Regions from separate parts of the Homo sapiens genome. Here region 1 is linked to region 2. The links are contacts of gene promoters, found by promoter capture Hi-C in blood cells and fetal thymus (Javierre and others, 2016). All regions are on one chromosome and are shown on one strand. Each heading gives the region's core, a stretch centred on a gene start or on the middle of the fragment in contact. The rest is flanking DNA. Distances are from core to core; before and after follow the strand shown. Region 1 overlaps NRG2 (neuregulin 2). Region 2 holds the start of PSD2 (pleckstrin and Sec7 domain containing 2).

The links. Contacts are between HindIII fragments. The CHiCAGO score rates a contact against its expected background, and 5 or more counts as called.
Region 1: a contact is called between a fragment that was not itself captured here and the fragment with the promoter of PSD2 in region 2, in 1 of 17 cell types (M0 macrophages). The highest score is 5.3, in M0 macrophages.

The regions. Positions count from the first base shown.
Region 1 is chr5:139,845,717-139,851,082 of GRCh38, reverse strand. NRG2 (neuregulin 2) reads left to right here. Exons shown (of 10, transcript NM_004883.3): 10 at 2,386-4,302. The coding sequence ends at 3,166. Among named protein-coding and RNA genes, the nearest start is that of PSD2, 53 kb to the right of the region's middle. RefSeq lists silencers at 2,305-2,364, 2,415-2,834, 2,965-3,154. The HindIII fragment of the contact is 1,442 bases long and covers 644-2,085 here.
Region 2 is chr5:139,793,639-139,798,465 of GRCh38, reverse strand. It overlaps PSD2 (pleckstrin and Sec7 domain containing 2), which reads right to left and starts at 2,658. Exons shown (of 15, transcript NM_032289.4): 1 at 2,491-2,658. RefSeq lists a silencer at 2,940-3,139. The HindIII fragment of the contact is 8,840 bases long and covers 1-4,827 here.

The DNA.
Region 1 (5,366 bases), core at 115-2,614, 54 kb before region 2:
CTGGGAGGCGGAGGTTGCAGTGAGCTGAGATGGCGCCACTGCACTCCAACCTCAGCAACAGAGCAAGACTCCCTTTACAAAAAGAAAAAAAAAAAAAGAACAAACAGGGGCTGTTCTGGACAAACCAGGATACATGCTAGAAGTTCCATGTCCCAGCAGGAACAGAAGGAGACACGAAGAAGGAGTAAACTGCAGAGTGGGAGGGGAGGTTGCCTTTGAGGACACTGACCAGCACAAGATGGACGTGAGCCAAGAATGATGGCAGGCCTTGGCAGTAGCAGCAACAAGACCCCAGGGTTCAAGGCCTTGTTGGCTTCCTAAGCAGTGGATGTAGTAAGAACCAGGAAACGCCCTTTCTTCCCTGACTCCAAGCCAGAAGTCAAGGGCCAGCACCCCTGCCACCTTGCTCAGCCCTGAGTGGCCCTCAGCAAGTGGGGTCTGTAGGAGGTGAGCAGGGAAAGATGAGTGGTACTAAAAACTCCACACCAGGGAGCAGGGAGAGGAGCAGATATTCCCTTGCTCTCAACTCAGCCTACTCCATGCCAGGCCCTGTGCTGGGCAGGCCTGGCTGGGAATCCAGAAGTGGCCTGCCAGGTTCCTGCTCCTGAGGAGCTCCTAGCCACAGAAACAAACCAAGGAAGCTTACAGCAGCCTATGGAAGGTGCTAAACATGACACCACACCAGGGCAGAGAGACCCAGTCTGACTGTAGGCTCTGGGAAGTAGCCAGATTTTCTAAGCCCAGCTCCACCACCTGTGTGATTTGGGGCAGACTGATCACCTCTGTACCTTGTTCCCTCAGCTGTAGAACAGGGAGAACAAAAGCTACTATGCATGGTTCAAGTGAAGGCCACCTGAGATCATGTGCACAGAGCTCTTTGTCTCATCCCTGGCATGGAGCTGATGCTCACTAGGTGTAGCTATTTATGAATCGTAACCACAGCAATGAGACTCCTTAATGGGTGGTAGGAAGGGGAGAGGCAGGAGAGCAGGAAGAAAAGCATTCTAGGCACGGGGAACAACTTGAGCTGTTCCAACAGAGGCACTTAAGAACAGGGCTGATGAGTGAGGTGCCTGGAACAGAGTGGGCTGTAGGGAGCAGAGGAGCTGGGCCTGAACAGGCAAGCTGAGGCCAGACAGACTGACCCTGGGTGGGTAAACAGGAAGACCGGCTTCAGCAGAGCTGTGACTTTACAAGATTGCTCTGGGAACTGCATAGAGTGAAGGAGGAGAGACCCTGGGGTGGACCCAGATGACCACATGTGAACAGTCGGGCCCAGGATGGGGTGGAGAGTGTGCTTCCGGAGAAGGGAATGGGTAGGACTTGGTGGTTAATCAGATGTGCCGGTGGGAAAGGGAAGAGGGAGGAGTCAGGCGATTCAGAAAAAATGATAATGGGGACTCCAGGCTGGTTCCAGAGAGCAGTGAGATGCCCAGCTGTGCAGTTTGGAAGGGAAGCGTGGAGGTGGGTGGCCCCTGTCCTGAGGTGACAACGGTGGGGCAGAAGACTGATGGGCTTACAAGGGGGATGTGGAGCACAAAAGGGGACAGGTACCCGGGATCCAGCCTGGGAGATATTAGCAAGGCCAGACTTCTGAAGGAGCTGGTGGTGTGGGGATGGGTCTGTAGCCACAAGCAGAGACACCTCATGGGATCTTGGTACTCCCCTGAAGCAGGTTTTGACTTCACTGTAAGGAGGAATATTTCCCTCACTGAAGCCATCAGGGCATGGGAGGAATTGTCCCTGTGGGGCAGTGAGGCCAGGTCACAGGGGTATCTGAATGGAGACTAATGGCTTCTGGAATTGGGCAGTATGAGTCCTGGTTCCTGACTAGCCTCAAGTCACATCCCAGCTCTGCCACTTCTTGGCTGTGTAAATCCTGAATAAGTCACTTAAACGTTCTGAGTGTTACTTTCCTGCGTGTAGAATTAAACGTTCTGAGTGTTACTTTCCTGCGTGTAGAATGGGACTGGCGGAAGGGTCTTACAGAGCTGCGGTATTAAACCAGATGGAACATGTACCCCAGCGTGAGCCTGACCCCCTGACGGTGAGCATTCCCACAGCAAGTGACCATTCATGAAAGCTTACCAGGGTCAGGCACAGGGCTAACACATCCCACTGATACAATCTGGAATCATCCCAACAGAGCTATGGAATCAACACCATGGTTATGCCCGCGTAACAGATAAGGAAACCGAGGCTCGGAGAGGTTTAGGAAATTGCATAAGGCCACTGAGGGTTGCTGCCGTCATTCTTGCAGGCGGGGTCTCGGGCAAGGTTAAGGCAAGTCTGGGTCCGCCCCTCCCACCCTACCCCACCCCCAACCCCCCCTCCCCCGCGCCGGCCCGGCCTGGCCCTGGCCCATGCCTCTGCCTCTCCCCGCAGGTACGTGTCGGCCCTGACCACGCCCGCGCGCCTCTCGCCCGTGGACTTCCACTACTCGCTGGCCACGCAGGTGCCAACTTTCGAGATCACGTCCCCCAACTCGGCGCACGCCGTGTCGCTGCCGCCGGCGGCGCCCATCAGTTACCGCCTGGCCGAGCAGCAGCCGTTACTGCGGCACCCGGCGCCCCCCGGCCCGGGACCCGGACCCGGGCCCGGGCCCGGGCCCGGCGCAGACATGCAGCGCAGCTATGACAGCTACTATTACCCCGCGGCGGGGCCCGGACCGCGGCGCGGGACCTGCGCGCTCGGCGGCAGCCTGGGCAGCCTGCCTGCCAGCCCCTTCCGCATCCCCGAGGACGACGAGTACGAGACCACGCAGGAGTGCGCGCCCCCGCCGCCGCCGCGGCCGCGCGCGCGCGGTGCGTCCCGCAGGACGTCGGCGGGGCCCCGGCGCTGGCGCCGCTCGCGCCTCAACGGGCTGGCGGCGCAGCGCGCACGGGCGGCGAGGGACTCGCTGTCGCTGAGCAGCGGCTCGGGCGGCGGCTCAGCCTCGGCGTCGGACGACGACGCGGACGACGCGGACGGGGCGCTGGCGGCCGAGAGCACACCTTTCCTGGGCCTGCGTGGGGCGCACGACGCGCTGCGCTCGGACTCGCCGCCACTGTGCCCGGCGGCCGACAGCAGGACTTACTACTCACTGGACAGCCACAGCACGCGGGCCAGCAGCAGACACAGCCGCGGGCCGCCCCCGCGGGCCAAGCAGGACTCGGCGCCACTCTAGGGCCCCGCCGCGCGCCCCTCCGCCCCGCCCGCCCCACTATCTTTAAGGAGACCAGAGACCGCCTACTGGAGAGAAAGGAGGAAAAAAGAAATAAAAATATTTTTATTTTCTATAAAAGGAAAAAAGTATAACAAAATGTTTTATTTTCATTTTAGCAAAAATTGTCTTATAATACTAGCTAACGGCAAAGGCGTTTTTATAGGGAAACTATTTATATGTAACATCCTGATTTACAGCTTCGGAAAAAAAAAAGAAACAACAAAAAAAAAAGAGAGATGGGCCAATTTTTTGACTCTTTAATAGAAACCTATTTTGTGGTGCCTTTTGCTGTATGCTCATCTGGGGCTCCGGGGGACAGGTCTGGGTTGTGGGGTGCTGAGAGTGACAGCTGGGAGAGAAGAGGTGCGGGTTCTGTTGGGGGCGAGGGTGGGGGGCGGTGGGGGGTTGGCCCTAAGGAAGAACTGAGGACGGAAGTAGCTTTGCTCCCAGGCAAGAGCTGAAGTTCCCGACCCCTGGGAGGAGAGGGCCAGGACCCTAGGCTTGGAGCTGGAGCTGGGGTAACTTCCAGGGGGAGATAAAGACACAGCTACCCGAATGGGGAAGCCCTGGCTACTCACAGCTGTTAAAGGAGGGGGGGCAGAGAAACGTTTCCCCAAGAGCCTGAGCCCAGGGAGGTGGCAGCTCTGCCAGGGGCCCAATGTTGGCGGCTCCTGTCCCCCACAGCCTCCAGGACGCCCCTCCGTCCTCTGCAGCACCTTCGTTTACAGGTCGTCTTTTCTATTTTACACCTGCATGTCCTTTGCATTTCAGATTCTTTAGATTGGATGCATGGTCACGCTGGGACCGAGAAGAGCCACTCGACAGTGTATTCCCCTTTTAGCAATAAAGTAACACCATTTCCTTCTCACAGGCTGCCTCCTAGCCCCCAACCCACCTATGACATCCACTCGTCTCCAGTCCTGCCCTCCCACCCCCAAAAACTGGGTCCACTGCTAATTTGTCAAAAAGGTAATTGTTTAAAAAAAAAAAAAATCCCAAACAGAAACAGATGGGAATCCTGTCCTGAAATGTCTGAACACCTGACTGTTGACACTTGAACATTTTTATATTATAAATAAAATCAGAAATAACTCCTGTTTGACTGTGTGTGCCTAGCCTCAGATGAGGAGGGAACTCAGAGCACGAAGTCCCATGGTGGATGTGGATGATGCTGGCCTGGAGGTTGGAGGGGGCCAGGGCAGTCCCTGGAAGGAAGTGACCCTGTCTCCGGTCTCTCCGGCCCCAGCTCACAGGACAGACTCCAGCCCTCCTCCCGCTTCCAAGAATATTTACAAGGTGTCCCCACTGGCTGCTGGGGAACCTGGCCAAGGGACTGACACAAATTGCTCTGCTTCAAACTCAGCGTTGGAACTCTGGCCCAGTTCCTGCCCTGGATCTATGGGCCGGACTGAGGCAACAGTTGCCGGCCTAGGTGGTTGAGGAGGGATGGGTTGTGGGGTTGGTAATAGCACAGCCAAGGCAGGATGACCCTTGGACCCTGAGGCACGTCACAGGCAAAGTCTGAACATGCAAAGTGGCATAACAGTGGTACCCTCAGCTGCCAGGACCACAGCTGCTGCAGTTCATAAGCCCACAGGGTGTTGCTCTTTCCCCAACTTTATACCCCCTCAGAGCCAGGACCTGTCTAAACCCGCAGACCTGAGAGAGAGTACATGATTTCAGTATGGAGAAGGCAGATGGAGGCCCAGGTTCAAAAGCCTTTCCCCTCATCAACTAATTTAGTAAACCAGTGCCCAGCACCCGGAACTATTCGGTTCCAGCCAGACACACGGACGTCTTCCACCCAAACAGCTGAGGTGGTTGGCATGCACACTCGGCTACACGTGTGTGTGTGTGTGTGTGTGTGTGTGTGAATCCCACTAGGATGTGTGTAGTCAGAGACCTATAGGTGGGAGGGACAGAGAGGCTGCGGGTTGAGAGGGCTTTGGCATCAACAGGGCGTAAGTTCAAATTCCAGCTCTGTGCCGCCTAGCTGTGTGACGTCTCTAGGCCACAGTTTCCTTGCTGGGAAATGGGTGATGTAAATACCTATTCCAAAAGGTTGCTGTGGAGATTATAAAGTACCCAGTGCTGATGCTGGCACGTGATAGATGCCTATTACATGGCTGATTTGATGGTGGTGATGACAATATCCTGTGCC
Region 2 (4,827 bases), core at 1,409-3,908:
GGAGAGGACATTCCTTCCCCAGGGCAGTCCACAAACCTGAGCATGCAGAGCTGTGGGCCAGCCCACAGGCCAGCCCAGGCCAGGCAGGCACAGCGCTGGAGTGGCTTACCACCTGAAAAGGGGGCCAGACCCTGAGGAAACGGACTCACCTGTGGGCAAGCCGGCTTAGAGGGACAAGGAAAACAAGCTGGTCCCAGGGAGACCAGGGCAGGAACATGGGCCCCTCCCCCTCCATTGAGCTGTGGCAAGGAGCCAGGTCTGGCCCCAAGCCCACCCAACTCCCCCAAACACCCCTCAAGGGGCGACAGCCTAAGTGTATCCTCCTGTTTGGAGAGCCAGTCTAAATACGGAGCCTCAGACATAAGATGCCGCTCAAAACAGATTTTCCTGGAAAAGACCATCTGGCAAAGGAGGTCTAGAGCATCGTCTGTTGTGAGAGGCAGTGTTGATCTCCTGCAAGCCAACGTCCGGAATGGGAATGCCTTGATCCCACCTCCCTAGGAAACTACAGCTTAGTGCTTGTTTTTCCCAAGGTCACCCTCTTGCCCAGATGGAGAGACACTCTATCCCACCTCCCACCTCTCTCCTAAATTGTGTCTCCAGGGAAGAAGAGGAGAGGATGGGGACACAGGTCTGAGTATCAGACAGTTCTGGCCAAGTGCAAATCCTCACTCTGCCACTTACTAACCAGGAGACTTTGAACAAACAGCTCTACCACAAAATGGGAATAAGGGTAGTGCCTCCCTCTAAAGACTGTTATGAGGGTACTTAGCACATATGCTCCATATGTGGAAGCTAGGTGAGGTAATACCCCCCAGCCACACTCTCTCTCTCAGTCCTGTCTAGAGCAGGAAGTCATTCCTTCCAGCTATCTTTGCTCTCTCCCTTCAGGGAAGACCCTGGGAGGCACTATTTGTCAGGTCTGCTTGTGGAGCGTGCACCCCATAGTTGTCAGACCAGGACAAGCTGCAGCGGGGAGGCCTCTGGGGGCATCCCTGGGCTGCAGGGTGCAATTCACCCAAGCATTGAGACTTCAACCTTGCAAGAGGCACCAGTGAGGGAGGCCTTCCAAGGACAACCCAGTCATCCTCCTTTAGCTGGGCCACACCCACCTACTCACCCCACTGCGTGGGAATCTTTTGGGGGCTCTGGCCAAACCCTAGGGACCTGCTATGTTTCCACCAGGACCAAACTTTGCAGTAGCCCCACTCAAAAGCCCCTGTTCCCTGCTTCCCGCATATATTGGGGAAAGGGGCTGCTGGGAGGACAGCAGGCACATTTTACTGATTCGGAGATCCCAGGCCCCAGAACTTGTAGCTTCCCTGGGAGACAGGTTCCTAAAGTCCTGGGGAGAGGGTGGAAGAATGAAAGAACGACTGCAACTGCCCTGGGCCACGGGTTGGGTTTGGAGGCAGTCCCAGCCCAGTGAACCCCCCCACCCCCAACCACTATTAAGCAGCTCTTGTTTGTAGGATCTAGAAAAAGGAACTGGGGAACCCAGGAAAGTCCAAACCCAGGCTGCCCACCTGCCCTGGCCAAATCCTGAGCCCTCTCGCTGATCCCCATCAAATTCAGCCTGGCTTATCCCCAGGCTGCCAGGAGTCTTAGGCCCTCTTCCATTGTGACTGCTGCTTCTGCTCCCTGTTCTCTTCCTGGCCCCCCCAAGATGGCCCCAAGACAAAGGGGTGGGCTTGAGACAGTGGCCCCCTGGGCCTATGCAAAAACAATGCCCCCAGTGATCATTCCGGGGAGTCCCTGCATCCTCTAGGAACAGCTGAATACCTCCTCCTCCGAGGGGGCCCGCTGGGCAGGGTTGTCCCCAGTCTGGACTCCCTCTGCACCCAGCCCCAGCAGCCCGCTCCTGGGACCCCTCCCTCCCGCTGCCGCCTCGGCCATTATGTGCCTCCTCAGCCCTGACTGCCACGCCCCCGTGCGAGCCCCCGCTCTAGCTGCAGAGCCGGGGAGGCCTGGCCGCCAAGCAGGGCTGTCAAAGTTGGGAAACTGGAAACAGAAATAAATCCTCAAAGCTGCAGCCTCGTGAAGGTGGCTGCCGGCAGGCCCCGGTACCCAATGCCCCGATCCCCGACCACCAGGCTGCCACTGGCACCCCCCACGCACACGCGTACCCCCAGATTATACAAAAGCGGGGAGAGGGTAGTGGGTGGCGGAGCCGGGAGACAATCGGCCCGGCAGCCCCCACCGTCCCTCAGGCTGGGCTCGGGCTTTCCCGCGGCGCCCCCTCTCCCCGGCCCAGACCCGGCCAGCCCGGGCTTCCTCTCTCGGCCCCATCTCCATGACAACCGTATCCTTCGGATGCTCCAGACGCCGCGGAATTGATCTGGAAATGTAGCTTTGTTAGCGGACCCGGGTGGGCACCGAGGGCGAGGGCGACGCCCCCCACCCGCACGCGGCCCTCTCCCCGGCCCGTCCCGCCCCGGCCTGGCCGCCAGCGGGGAGGGGCGGGTCCCGGAGCCCCGCGGCCCCACTCACCGCTGCTGGTCCCCGCCGCGGGTCCGGCCTCTCACGGCGGGGCCATCGGAGGCCGCCGGGCTGCCTGTCCCGCCCCGCCGCCGCCGGTCGGAGCTGCCCGCGCCCGCCCGCGTCCCTTCAGGTGCCGGAGCCGCGATGTGGAGAGGCTGAGCGAGGGGGACGGACGGCAGGAGGGAGGGAGCGGAGCCGTGAGCTGGAGGAGGAGGAGGAGGGAGGAGCGGGAAGGGCGGGGAAGGGCGGGGGCACTGCGGGCGCGCGAGCGGCGGGCGCGGAGCCCGGAGGGAAGCGCGGCCCCCAGCCCTGTCCGCTTGCAGCGCAGCGCTCGCCCCGGGACCCCGAGCGTGCCGGGGAGAGCGCGGCCCACCTTGTCCCCCTCTGCCCCGCGCGGGCCCTTTAAGAAAGGGGGGGAGGGGAGCGCCCGGGGTTCTGCCCCCTCCTAGCCACGCTGGGCCCCTGCCGTCCTCGAACCCTCGGGCAGACCCAACCACCTCCGCCCTCCAGGCAGGACCCACCGGTCTAGAACCTGAGCTCTCGGGACCCGCCAGGCCCTGGAGGTGAAGGAGGGGGCGGGTCCTGGCCCTCCTCCCGCGGTCTGTTCAGGGAGTGACCCCTGCCCCCAGCCCCCCGACACACACGCCAGCCCCCGGGAGACGCCGCCAAGGGAGGAGCAGGGAGTGCGGGGGGCCAAGGTGAAGAATCTCAGAGAGGGAGACTGAGCCCCTGAGACCTAGAGTCACACGGGACGGGACGGAGACCTGGGCTGTGGGGTGAGAAGGAGCCTCGGGACAGAGTGGGATGGGAGGAGGCAGGAGAGAGGAGAAAGAGACAAAGGAGAAAGAACCTGAGGGAGGCGGGAGGTGAGGGGTGGGTCCAACCAAGAATCCACATCCCTGTGCCAGGTCAAGGGGAAGCCTCCCTGGGCAGATATAAGGAGACAGAGAGAGACAGAGGGTGCCCTGGGCAGAGGAAACCATCTCCCAAGGCACCTGTCCCACGGTGTCTCCCCAAGGGCAAGTCAAGGCCCTGAAGCCGCCCCCCTCAGCCCAGGACTCTAACTGAAGAAGAGGGTTGACTGGCTGTACCTGGGCTAGACATTAAGAACTTCCTGGCTGTGAGGCACCTGCAGAGTAAGAGTCCGCCTCTCAGAGAGGCATTAAAGGGCCCCCACCCACAGGGATCTAAGGAGGGCGTGGGGAGCAGGCCCAGTGCCTGGGAGAAGGGAAATCAGGATAGAGTCAGGCCCTGCCACTGGAGGCCACTTTCTACCCCTCTCCCCTACTCCAGCCCCTGGGGGGTTCACCACACCCAGTTGCTTCCATCTCCAGACCTCAGCAGATGATCCACACTCTGCCCGGTGGGGCCTTGATCCTGCTGTGCTCAGTGAACTCCTACTGAACCCTCAAATTCCTCCTTAAATGCCCCTTCCTTCATGAAGTCTTCTCTGACCTTCTTTCCACCCATGAACACACAAACATGGACTCTTCTTAGGGAGCAGGAAGAGGATTTGCTGACCTCTTAGGGTGGCAGTAATTGGAGGTGTGGAATCTGAGCTGTGCGTAGTCTCCCTCCCTTCAAGCTGGGCAACAGCAGGAGCTGGGACTTCATCAACCATGGTGACACCTCTGACAACCAAGCATCTACCAAGTGCTCTTCATGTGTCATATTTAATTCTCAAAACAATCCTACAACCCGTTTTACAGATGAGAAAACTGAGACTTGGAGAGCATAAGTCACTTGCTCATGATCCCAGGAGATCTGAATCTGTGAGCACAGCTGGTCAATTAAGAGGGCACTCAGACCACATCCTTCACTGCCCATCAAACCCTAGGACATTACCGCAGAGCCCAGAAACAAGGGAGCCACTCTCTGTGCAGGTGCCCAGGATCTTAAAGGGCACAGAGGGAGCTTGGCTTCCCTGCTGTCCTGCATTCTACCCCCCTGCCCTCTGCTACCTGTAGGCAGAGAAGGGTGGCGACCAGCAGGGGCTGTGGAGGGAAGTGCTCATGGCAGGGCTTAGATACCACATTCCCCACCCTTGGCACCCATGCCCTCAAGTCACAGCTGGACCACCTTTCTGGGCTCCTACTTCCTCATCTGCCCAATGAGGATGGTAGCAGTCCCCCTCTTTGTGAGGCTAGGATGGGGACCGAAAGAGCTGATGTGCTCAAGACCTGGCACACAGATGCACTCAATGGGCCATGGCTGTTCCAGCTGTAATGATTACTTACTCATGGAATGCACTATTTAATTGTTGTCCACTGGATGGACTCTGAGCCCCTTGAAAGGGTTCACAGTGTATCCTCAGCACCTAACACTCAGCATGGCTTAATAAATTAT